Linked DNA regions of Homo sapiens: regions 2 and 3 are each linked to region 1. The links are contacts of gene promoters, found by promoter capture Hi-C in blood cells and fetal thymus (Javierre and others, 2016). All regions are on one chromosome and are shown on one strand. Each heading gives the region's core, a stretch centred on a gene start or on the middle of the fragment in contact. The rest is flanking DNA. Distances are from core to core; before and after follow the strand shown. Region 1 holds the start of PRICKLE1 (prickle planar cell polarity protein 1). Region 2 overlaps PDZRN4 (PDZ domain containing ring finger 4). Region 3 holds the start of PDZRN4 (PDZ domain containing ring finger 4).

What was found. The method cuts DNA at HindIII sites, captures the fragments that hold promoters and counts their contacts. A CHiCAGO score of 5 or more calls a contact.
Region 2: a contact is called between a fragment that was not itself captured here and the fragment with the promoter of PRICKLE1 in region 1, in 1 of 17 cell types (total B cells). The highest score is 6.2, in total B cells.
Region 3: a contact is called between the fragment with the promoter of PDZRN4 here and the fragment with the promoter of PRICKLE1 in region 1, in 4 of 17 cell types (M1 macrophages, fetal thymus, total B cells and 1 more). The highest score is 7.0, in M1 macrophages.

The regions. Positions count from the first base shown.
Region 1 is chr12:42,588,156-42,591,353 of GRCh38, forward strand. It overlaps PRICKLE1 (prickle planar cell polarity protein 1), which reads right to left and starts at 1,591. Exons shown (of 8, transcript NM_153026.3): 1 at 1,310-1,591. RefSeq lists a silencer at 1,595-1,844 and an enhancer at 2,314-2,871. The HindIII fragment of the contact is 6,666 bases long and covers 1-3,198 here.
Region 2 is chr12:41,271,880-41,275,118 of GRCh38, forward strand. All of the region lies in intron 3 of PDZRN4 (PDZ domain containing ring finger 4), which reads left to right. Among named protein-coding and RNA genes, the nearest start is that of PDZRN4, 85 kb to the left of the region's middle. The HindIII fragment of the contact is 906 bases long and covers 1,166-2,071 here.
Region 3 is chr12:41,186,593-41,190,017 of GRCh38, forward strand. PDZRN4 (PDZ domain containing ring finger 4) reads left to right here and starts at 1,728. Exons shown (of 10, transcript NM_001164595.2): 1 at 1,728-2,511. The coding sequence starts at 1,864. LOC124903069 (a long non-coding RNA gene) reads right to left here and starts at 1,640. Exons shown (of 2, transcript XR_007063563.1): 1 at 1,209-1,640; 2 at 1-738. The HindIII fragment of the contact is 2,373 bases long and covers 1,437-3,425 here.

The sequences.
Region 1 (3,198 bases), core at 341-2,840:
TCTGGAGCCGGACTACGGCAAACATTAGCAACCCTCACCAGTCTACACCTTGGGCCTGTCTGAAAAGACAGATGGAAGTTCCCTCTACTCCTAAAGTACATTAAAAAATGTCTGATGGTGAACCACATCAATTATATAACATCAACTGCAGGCACAGCCTTCCAAAGTACTGATTAAGACGAGGCAGTAGACAACACTGTATGCATGAACAGATACAAGATACCATTTCAGTGATTTGTCATTCATAAAACTTATCCTAAAAGACACATATACATGCATCCATTTGATAGCACAAATGCATGTTAACTCTGCAGGAGAGGCAGATTTTTACATGTTTTTTTGGTTGTAGTTGTTGGTGCTTTTTTTTTTTCCTTTAGGCTGGTTCCCGTGGTGTGTTTGCCTTGTTCATGGTCTCAGTTCTGCCGCTGATACCCTTTTAAAAATCAGCAACCAAACGCGTTCGGCTTGTGATCCTGAACCCTCCTTAGGCAAGCTGGAACTAAGCGTGATGCAGCCGTCCTCCCTCTCTCCCAACCCCCAACCTCGTTCTTCAGCCTCCTGAAGACAATCTGTGAACAATTTTCCCAAAGTCCCAAGAATAACACAGCACTGCCAATAGTCACTGGCGATGCCGTTTGTTTTTCTTAGAGGGTAATGAAAATTTAACAGCTTTCTGCTGCATCCTGAGTCCCGCTCCTAATAACTATTAACATGCCTAGTTTCTTCAACTTTTTCTACCTCAAGAGAGGAAGACGCTCCCATTTTTTCCCTATATCTGTGCTACATTCAGCAAACACCATCGCGGGGCAGGGGGTTGGGGAGAGTGGTGGGAGTTGATTCGCCTCTGCCAAAAAGCCACCAGCCCCTTTCCCCAGCGCTAGAGGAGAGAATCGGTACCCTCCCTCCGGACGCCAGTAGGTGACAGGCGATCCTAAGCGGCGGGAACACGCCAACGCACCCTCGCCTCCCGGCGCCCCGCATCGCCTCGACCCTCGGGCTACAGAACCTGTTTCCACGCCGGAGAAAACCAAGGGAAGAGTTGGTTGTGATGCAGCAAACAGGAGCCATGCGGAGAGCCTCTGCGGAGCCCTGGCGATGCTGCAGCCAATATCTGCTTTCCCTGTCTACACAGCCCAACAAACCGATTATGACCTTCTCCCTGATCTTCTGCGACACCGACCCAGTCTGGGTGTCACAGACTCCGGCGGTGCCAGCGAAGGTGCCCGGCCCTACCCCTGCGGCGCTCGCCCCCCACCACCGCGCCGCAGCCCCCTCTGCGGAATCCGCCGGGATCCAGGCTGCCACTCACCTCGCGCGAGGGAGACGCAACTCGGCTGCACTGTCCTCGGCGCCGCTGCGGGGCTGCTGGGCTGCGGGGCTGCGGGGCTGAGGAGCTGCGGTCCGCGGCGTCAGGGGTGGGCGAGGGTGAGCAGCGCACGAACCATCCAGAGCCCAGAAAGTCTCCGTGCCGACCGCGGCGCGTCTCGGGGAAGTCAGCGCAGGCTGCGCGAGGCTGGCATGTTCCGGGCGCGCTGTCGGGCGGCGGCGGCCGCGGGAGACGGCGCTGGCAGCTGGGCTGCAGGCGGAGTGCGCTCGGGCTCCGGAGCCGCGCGCTGCGGCGCCGCCGCGCACCCCGCCCTCGGCCGCGGGGCCCGGCGCGAGCGAAAACGCGGAGCGCGGACGCCGCCGCGGGATCGAGGCCGCTGGGCGCGCGCCCACGCGTACCCCGGCTCGGCCCTGAAAGCGAGGTCGGGCCCGGCTCGGGCCGCGCCCGGGGGCAGGGCTGCGAGCAGGCCTGGGACCGGCTCCACGCGCAGCCAGTGGGGCAGAGCAGCAGGCGGATTATGCGCAGGGAGAAAAAAGTTCACCAACCGCGGTCCAGAGTCGCAAGTGCGGCTCGCTCGGAGCCTCTGCCCCGCCCCCGATTATAAGCCTTTTTTTTTTTTTTTTTTTAACCAACAATCCCGATGGACTGAAACACAGGAAGAGTGAAGGGACGGGGTGGGGGGTGGGGGAGAGACAAACCCAATTTCCTCTGATCAAACGATTTGGGTAGGGGTGCCTATTTGAGTTCCTTCTCCTTCGGGGGGTGTGTGAAGGGGGCAGTTAATTAAACACTTAGATTCCTTCCGGCGCGCCTTGCCGAGCTGGGGACCCGTTTGGACTCGATCCTGTCTCGTGTAATCCCACAGGCTGGTCTGAGTCTCTGCCCCGGAACCGGAGGAGTGATCTTTCAGAGCAAGAAGCCAAAGTTCAGCCTCTAGTCCGTTCCCTTCCCCGCCTCGACGGCCCTGGTCGTCTCCATGAAAACTCAGTGTGGGGGATCGTGCCCGCGAAAACCTCAGCCCACCGCAATGTCCAGAGCCTGACCCAAGTGAACGTGGCGCACTTAAAAGCGGGTTCAAAGCATTGATCCGAACACGGTGACAATTTTTCACTGGCCAAACTACTCTCCACATTTTCAGTCTGCTCAATTCCCAGAGCTGGGCTCTCAGGCGCACTCACCCACGTTGAACTGGGGCTCAGCCTGTTTGAAAGTTCTGCCCTGACATTTGTGTCACACTAAACCTTAGAACCCCCCACCCTCTCCAGTTCCGGATCGGTGGAGTCTCACCGTGTGGGTACTATTTCCCTGGACTGCAGAGGGCAGACACAGGCGGCAGCTGTTAACCCGAACTTGACAGGTGCCTCTGCAAAGCCAGGGCTTCCTTGACCTCTCCATCCTCTCCACAACGCTCTAGGATACTGTATCATCTTCCAGGAAGATGAGGATGTGTGTGGGGGGAGTGTGGAGGGAGGTGTTGACTGATGCAATTTTTATCCTTTTAAGAAAAATCAAAACTGCCAGTCTCAGAATTTCTCAGAACATCAAGTCTTTTCGATTTTCGTTGGGAATAAAGCAAAGGAATACTCAGCAAAAATGGAGCCGATGAAAAGAGAATGCAAGGAAATAAAGGCAAATGGAGGAGGAAACTGTCTAAATCCAGGAAAATGTATGGCTTCAGCACTGTGCTCTATAATTCTGACTCAGATCTCCCCACGCTGTAGATACTTTCTCCTGTCTAGATGCCCAGGCAGAGTTCCTGAGCTCAGATCACTCAGGAAACAAGGCTGTTGCTTTTGAAATAATTCCACTTGCTAGCGTTGTTTTTTTTTTTTTTTTTTTTTTTTTTTTTTTTTGAGACGGAGTTTCGCTCT
Region 2 (3,239 bases), core at 369-2,868, 1.3 Mb before region 1:
ATATGGAAATAAAACACATGCTGCCAGGCCTGTTTTCATTATTTTGATCTCATAAAAGATCTTTATATTTCAATACTGCACAGACAACAAATGATTTTGCAACATCATTTCTATGTTTATATAAGCCTCTACTATATAGAATATCTCAAAAAGCAATTCCTTTCTCTACCAAATAGAGTATTTTTTTTTTTGGAATGAAAGAATGGCAAAAAAAATTTAACTTGTTTCCTTAATTCACATAAACAATAAAAATCAAAGATTTTGTCTATGTCCATTCAATGAATTACTTACTTTTTTCCCTCCACTAATATTTACTTTAAGAACATAAAATTCATAAATAAATAACCTCTTCTGGTTTTAAAGCCAAAGTGCCAATGATATGTGGTGAATCAGCCTAAAGTCAACTGGTAAAAATATTGTTTTCTTTGGTTATGAAAATTTCTAACTCAGTTGAGACATACAGATCAGGATCTTCAAATAAAATATTCTTAAATGGAATATGTATGAAATATACTTCACAGACCAAATATATTGATCCTAAAGTGACCTGTTTGACTTATTAATTTTAAAGCATCATTACTATAATGGCCCATTTATTGTATTAAATGAGTATTAAATCTTTGCAGCTACTTAAGACTGCTTTTAAGGGTCACGGATTTAATTGCCTCAATAAATATATACCTATACTATCAGTTATTTCTAACTTCTCAGGAGGCAAAGGCACTGGTGTGTTTAGTAAGTATAATTGACTCTTTTAGTAAGAAATGGATACACTTTTAAAGCACATGTATCAAGACTGCCAGAAAAAAATTTAAAACTTTATCGGCAGTTCAAAAGTTATAAAAATATTTGCCAAGCTTGAAAAACATTTCTATCTTTATTTTATAATAACATATTTACTTAGAAAGTGCTTTGTTTTCTTTCCCCTTTGTGGCATCGAATTGTCAATTAAAGGCCTTTAGAGTGACCATGGGATGAGTTGGTTAAGTTGCTGTCCAGGTGGGAGAACAGCAAAATAGATGCTGTTGGTTGTAACTCTGAATTTCCAGAAGTCACATTGAAGTCCTAATAATCAAAATATTTAGGAGGAAATTGAATTCTGCAATCAATGAGAACTATAGTCTTGGCAGTTCCTAAAAGGCGCATTTCCTTGTTGTTTTGCTTAAGCTTGTCTGGGCTTCATTTAGTAGTCTGCTTATGTTAAATTTAAGCAATCATGGGTATGGAAAATGAATAAAGTGTTGACTATCCATTTGGATCAATTTTATTCATTCAAAAATGTACATTTTAATAAAGTAATGTTAGGCACTATGGATAGAAATATCAAAGAGGCTCAGTTTCTTCTTCCAAAGTGTTCCTAAAGAAGGAAATAGACATAGAAGGAAAGCAAGTTATAATCCAGTTTCATAAGTACAGTAATGGAAGATTGCATAAGACAGTATGCTGGCAAGCGCAAGAATGATCAAACCTGGTTGTGGAGAGTGTCATGAAAGTCATTATAACCAAATCTGAAAATGCAGTTCCCCAGACGCTTAAAGAAGAAAAATGTATTCTGAAAAGAAGAAACAGTGAATTCAGGACAGAGAATGAAACAGTATAGCGTGATAGAAACTACAAGTAGCCTTAACTGTAACTTACATATAGGGCATCTCCCAGAGATGGGGGAAGTGATAAAGGGTGAAGCTAGTAAGGAACTTGTATGCTTGGAAGTTTTGACACTACTCTATAAATGATGTAGAAACCAATAAATGAAGTGTTTCATTAAAGAAAAAGTATATTCAGTCAGAAATTAGCAATTTTAGGAATTTTTATAATACCTAAAAAATGACTGAACATAAAATCTTATTTTTAATTGATAAAATATGTTTTCAGGTTTACCTGCAAAAACTATGGTTGATTTGCAAACATGTCTTATTATAGTAGAAAATTACCAAATGTATGCTATTTATCATTAAATTTACCTTCATGGCAGCAGATGCCAAAGAACTAGTTCAGCAATTATGCCTTAATGTCATCCCATTATCATTTATCATTTTTCTTAATGCATCAAGATCTAAAGTCCTTGAATGCAAGCTTGGTCAGCAACCATAGAAATATGGGGTTCATTTTGTCTTTACTTTGTCATAAAAGGGGTCTTGCCTTCTTCTATGTGGGACATGGCATTTAAGTTAAGTTCATATAACTTTTTAAGTAAGGACATTATATATTTTTTTCATTTTGTACTGGGATAACTACCTCACCAATAAGTGGTAGAATAAATTGTAGCCACATGTCAAAAAGTAGGTCATCCTAATGAGTGTGTGTAAAGCTGGTATTTTCCTTTTGAAAATGTCAGGGTTTTTAAAAAAACAGAACAGAAATATGTTTTATTAATAACCACTCTGTGTATTGTGTAGTTAAAATCTTTGACTATATAACCTCTTTCATACCAAGCATTATTTAAAATAATAAATCTTTCAAAATTTAAATAGATATGGCACAAAGGTGCAATTTGAAGGAATATATAGAGTTGATCATTATAAATGGAAAACGCTTAAAATGCTGAGCTTGTTTCTATGTTTAGTGAACACTTCCTAGTTTAAGCTAGAGAGAAGGATTGCCTGAATTAATGAAAGTTCCGAATTAGAAAATATTTTGGAAGCAAATATAGTACCATAGATGCTCAGGGATATTAGAAGCCATTTTTAAATACCAACTAAAGTCTATGTAACATTGACATTATCTCTACCTCTTGTATCCCTAGACACTACTGAAATACCTGAATCCATGGTGGAGAGCAGATCTCCCAAGACAGCCTGCTTCTTCTTCAGATGATTCCATTAGGAAAAGTTTTCTTATATTTTGCCAAATCTATCATAGCTAGCATTCCCTGGCTCAAACTTTGCCTGGTGTGTTCATGAAGTATACACCCTTGAAATATCTGAAGACAGTTAAAGATTAATTCCCTTCCTGTTTACTGAATCACTGGACTCGCCATTAGGGAAATGTGGTAGGAAAAAAATGCTCTGAAATCAGTCAAATATTTGCAAAGTCTCCCAGTGAATTATTATAGACAGAACAATTTTGGCTGACAGTATAATTAGGTAGATTCAGGCCCAAGAGCTCATTGGTGGGTCAGTGTCGGACTAGGCACCTGATGCATCTATGTAGTCCAGATGCTACAGGGATCAGTGCTTTAGACTAAGATGCTGAACATTTTAACTCATGAATAAGCTGAGAGGCTTGACTGGCATGGGATC
Region 3 (3,425 bases), core at 478-2,977, 1.4 Mb before region 1:
GTGTCATTGTGTTTACTGTAAAACCAATAAATGTCAAGCTATAGCTATAACTGTATATGCATGGTTATAATTATAAATGTTTATAGCTGTAAGTCACAACTTTTTCTATAGCTAAAAAAAGGAATAGATTTCTCCTGCCCAGAAGTATTTTAATAAATTCTAGAACATGTATTTCCAGTTTATGCAATTCACAAAAATATTTTCATGCTGTTAATATTAAATGATTTCTTATTTAATCAGTAATTCATTGTTTGCTTATTTATTTGTAGAAAGACAGGTCGAAAGAGGGGGGAAATTTGGAACATAGGGGCAAATGTTACTTTATCACATATGAATCTATATATATTAAATGAGAAATATAGCATCTTATTTTGAAAAAGAGTTTAAAAGCATATCAAACATCTAGCACACCAATCATCACTGGTTATTGAACAACTAACAAAATCTCATCTTTCAAACAGCAAGAAGGCTCAGAAGGTTATTAGCCTCTATTATTAGTCTTTGCTAATTCTTCAGTTAGCTCCAAGGATTTAAAAGACAAAGTCTGGAGCTGTTCTCATCAATTCCAACTGATGCCATTTGGTGTCATAGAGAATTACAAGCTTTCCAGGAACAAGGCTCAACTGGCAGCAAGGAATCATCAATGATTAATTTATAAAACCCACCCAAGCATCTGGTGGCAGCTTCAGGATAATGGCAGTAAGTGATATGCAGCCAGGTGACAGGATCTCTGCATTCCTAAGGTTCAGAAGATGGTAAAGGAAGTGGAGTAAGAAGGGTTTGGAATGACGCCCTACTGCGTGTTTTCAGGACGGCTTGTCATGCTACACAATTTGAGGAGTCAAACTAGGAGGGGAGGCAATTTGGATCCAAAGGGTTCATTCAGGGTAAGTAGAAGGAAGCAGCCACTAAGATTTTATTTATATGTTATTTCACTGCTTTCTTTCATCATCCTTCCCTTTAATTTTCCCTTCCAGGTTCCCAAATGATCACATTCCCGTCCCCAGTAGTAAAACGCCCGTGGAAGTAGAAGATGGATGCTGTGGCAACTGAACCTGGAGTCAGACTCAGAATCCCAGCTTCCTCACTCGGGAGGAGGCCTTGCATGGCTGTTCATGGGCTCCCTAAGAAGGCAGTGTCCTGAGGCGGGCCCTTGACTTTTTCCCCATCTTTGCTGCTAGGTCAAGGATCGCGCCATTCTAACTCACCTGATTTCTGGATCACGGTTTGAGAAGCCTGGCCCTGTGGATTTCCTAGTGTTATTTTCCTTATAGTGATTTCCTAAGGTCACAGTTTCCTAACTTCTGATTTTGTAGTTTTGATGTGAAAGAACAAAAGTGCTTCGATTTCAAACATATTGGAGATAGACTCGACGCCGGGCGGGCCATGGGCATTCAGCGGAAAACCAGACAGACAAAAAGATTCTGCTCTCCCGAAGCTTACATTGTGGTGAATTTAAAAGTTGTTTCTCAACATTAGCGCTTTACCCATCAGCAGCCCTGCCCAGGGCGAGGCGCCTCGATGCTTGAAGTTCACTGTTCAGGCGAAGGAGAACACAGTGTTCCCAAGGACCATTGTAAGCTGGGCGGCCAAAATTTGAAAGAACATAAATCGCAGGGCAACGAAGGAGGCGGGGGTCTCTGGAGGTTACTTCTATTAGCGTCAATACGGGCGAAATCAGGGGACCTAGCAGGAGCCTGAAAACTTCAAGCCAAACAAACAGTGAGATCACACCTCCCACCCGCCACCTCCCTCCACTGCCGCCGCCGCGAGACGGCTGCCCCGGGGGTGGCCCGGGGAAGGCAGGGGGGCTCGGAGAAGACGGACTCTGCTTTCGCTCCCCCTTTCTTCCCCATCCCTAACATGGGCTTTGCCCTGGAGCGCTTCGCAGAAGCCGTGGACCCGGCTCTGGAGTGCAAACTGTGCGGCCAGGTGCTTGAAGAGCCCCTGTGCACGCCGTGCGGGCACGTCTTCTGCGCCAGCTGCCTGTTGCCCTGGGCGGTGCGGAGGCGCCGGTGCCCGCTGCAGTGCCAGCCCTTGGCGCCCGGCGAGCTGTACCGGGTGCTGCCGCTGCGCAGCCTCATCCAGAAGCTGCGAGTCCAGTGCGACTACCGCGCCCGCGGCTGCGGCCACTCGGTCAGGCTGCACGAGCTGGAGGCGCACGTCGAGCACTGCGACTTCGGCCCTGCCCGCCGGCTCCGCAGCCGCGGGGGCTGCGCTTCGGGGCTGGGCGGTGGTGAGGTGCCCGCGCGGGGGGGCTGCGGTCCGACACCCAGGGCTGGCCGGGGCGGGGGCGCGCGCGGGGGGCCGCCGGGCGGCCGCTGGGGCCGCGGGCGGGGACCCGGGCCTCGGGTCCTCGCCTGGAGGCGGCGCGAGAAGGCGCTGCTGGCGCAGCTCTGGGCGCTGCAGGGCGAGGTGCAGCTCACGGCGCGCAGGTACCAGGAGAAGTTCACCCAATACATGGCTCACGTCCGCAACTTCGTCGGCGACCTCGGTGGCGGCCACCGCAGGGTAAGCAAAGGGGGGTGGGCACCGCGGGCATGGTCGATTGGGGTGGGAAAAGGAGCGGTTCTTTCTGACGCTTCAGGATTCCTTTGGAATTGGGCATCCTTCCTCACTATGCAGCAGGAAACATCCACACCCTGATCATACTTTCCTGTCATTATCTTACGAATGGATTGGCGTCGAAGTTAAGGATTGTCCCTTTTCTGATTATATTACGATTGGAAAGAGTTAAACAGATTCGATTCTAACTTTCCCCCGGGAAAGTAGGAATTGTGAAAACTCATTTTCCATCCAGACTCTCGTTTTCCATCTTTCACCCTCCTGCCCACCGTCTCTGCCTATTTTTTGAGCACTTGTCCCGTGCCTGAAGCAAATCCGAGAAGGAAAGACAGAAAGCGAAGACTTTCCCGGCCCAGCCTTTCCTCTCCCGCGGCCACCAGCATCCCCGCGGCCCTGGCAGCCGCGCACGCACACCTGGGACTGGTGTCAGCGTTGATGACACTTGCGCTGCCACTGCCTGAATCAACTGCCTTCTATTAAGTTGGGGACTGTGAGGCACGTTGGGGCCAGGACAGCCTCAGGAGTTGAGAGATGGGGTTTCTTAGACTTGCAGAGTTCATTTCATCACTCTGACTTTCCCTAAATAAGCCTTCCTTGCCTCGGGATCTCATTATTGGTGGAGAGAGAGAGAGAGATTGAGATTGTGTGTGTGCGACCTGGGAAGTCCAGTCCGAGAACCTCCATCTGTGGTCAGACCGGCCCTGCGAGCCCCCAGGCAGCGGTTGTTTCCCTTCTTTGTCTAAGCTGCTGGCCCCGAACTGCGCTCCTGGTCCTCCCGCCGGCTTTCATACCGAATAAACAAGCCTCTTTGCAGCATCCCGTGTGAAGAGGCTTGTTTATAAAGCTGTTACTTCTCTCCT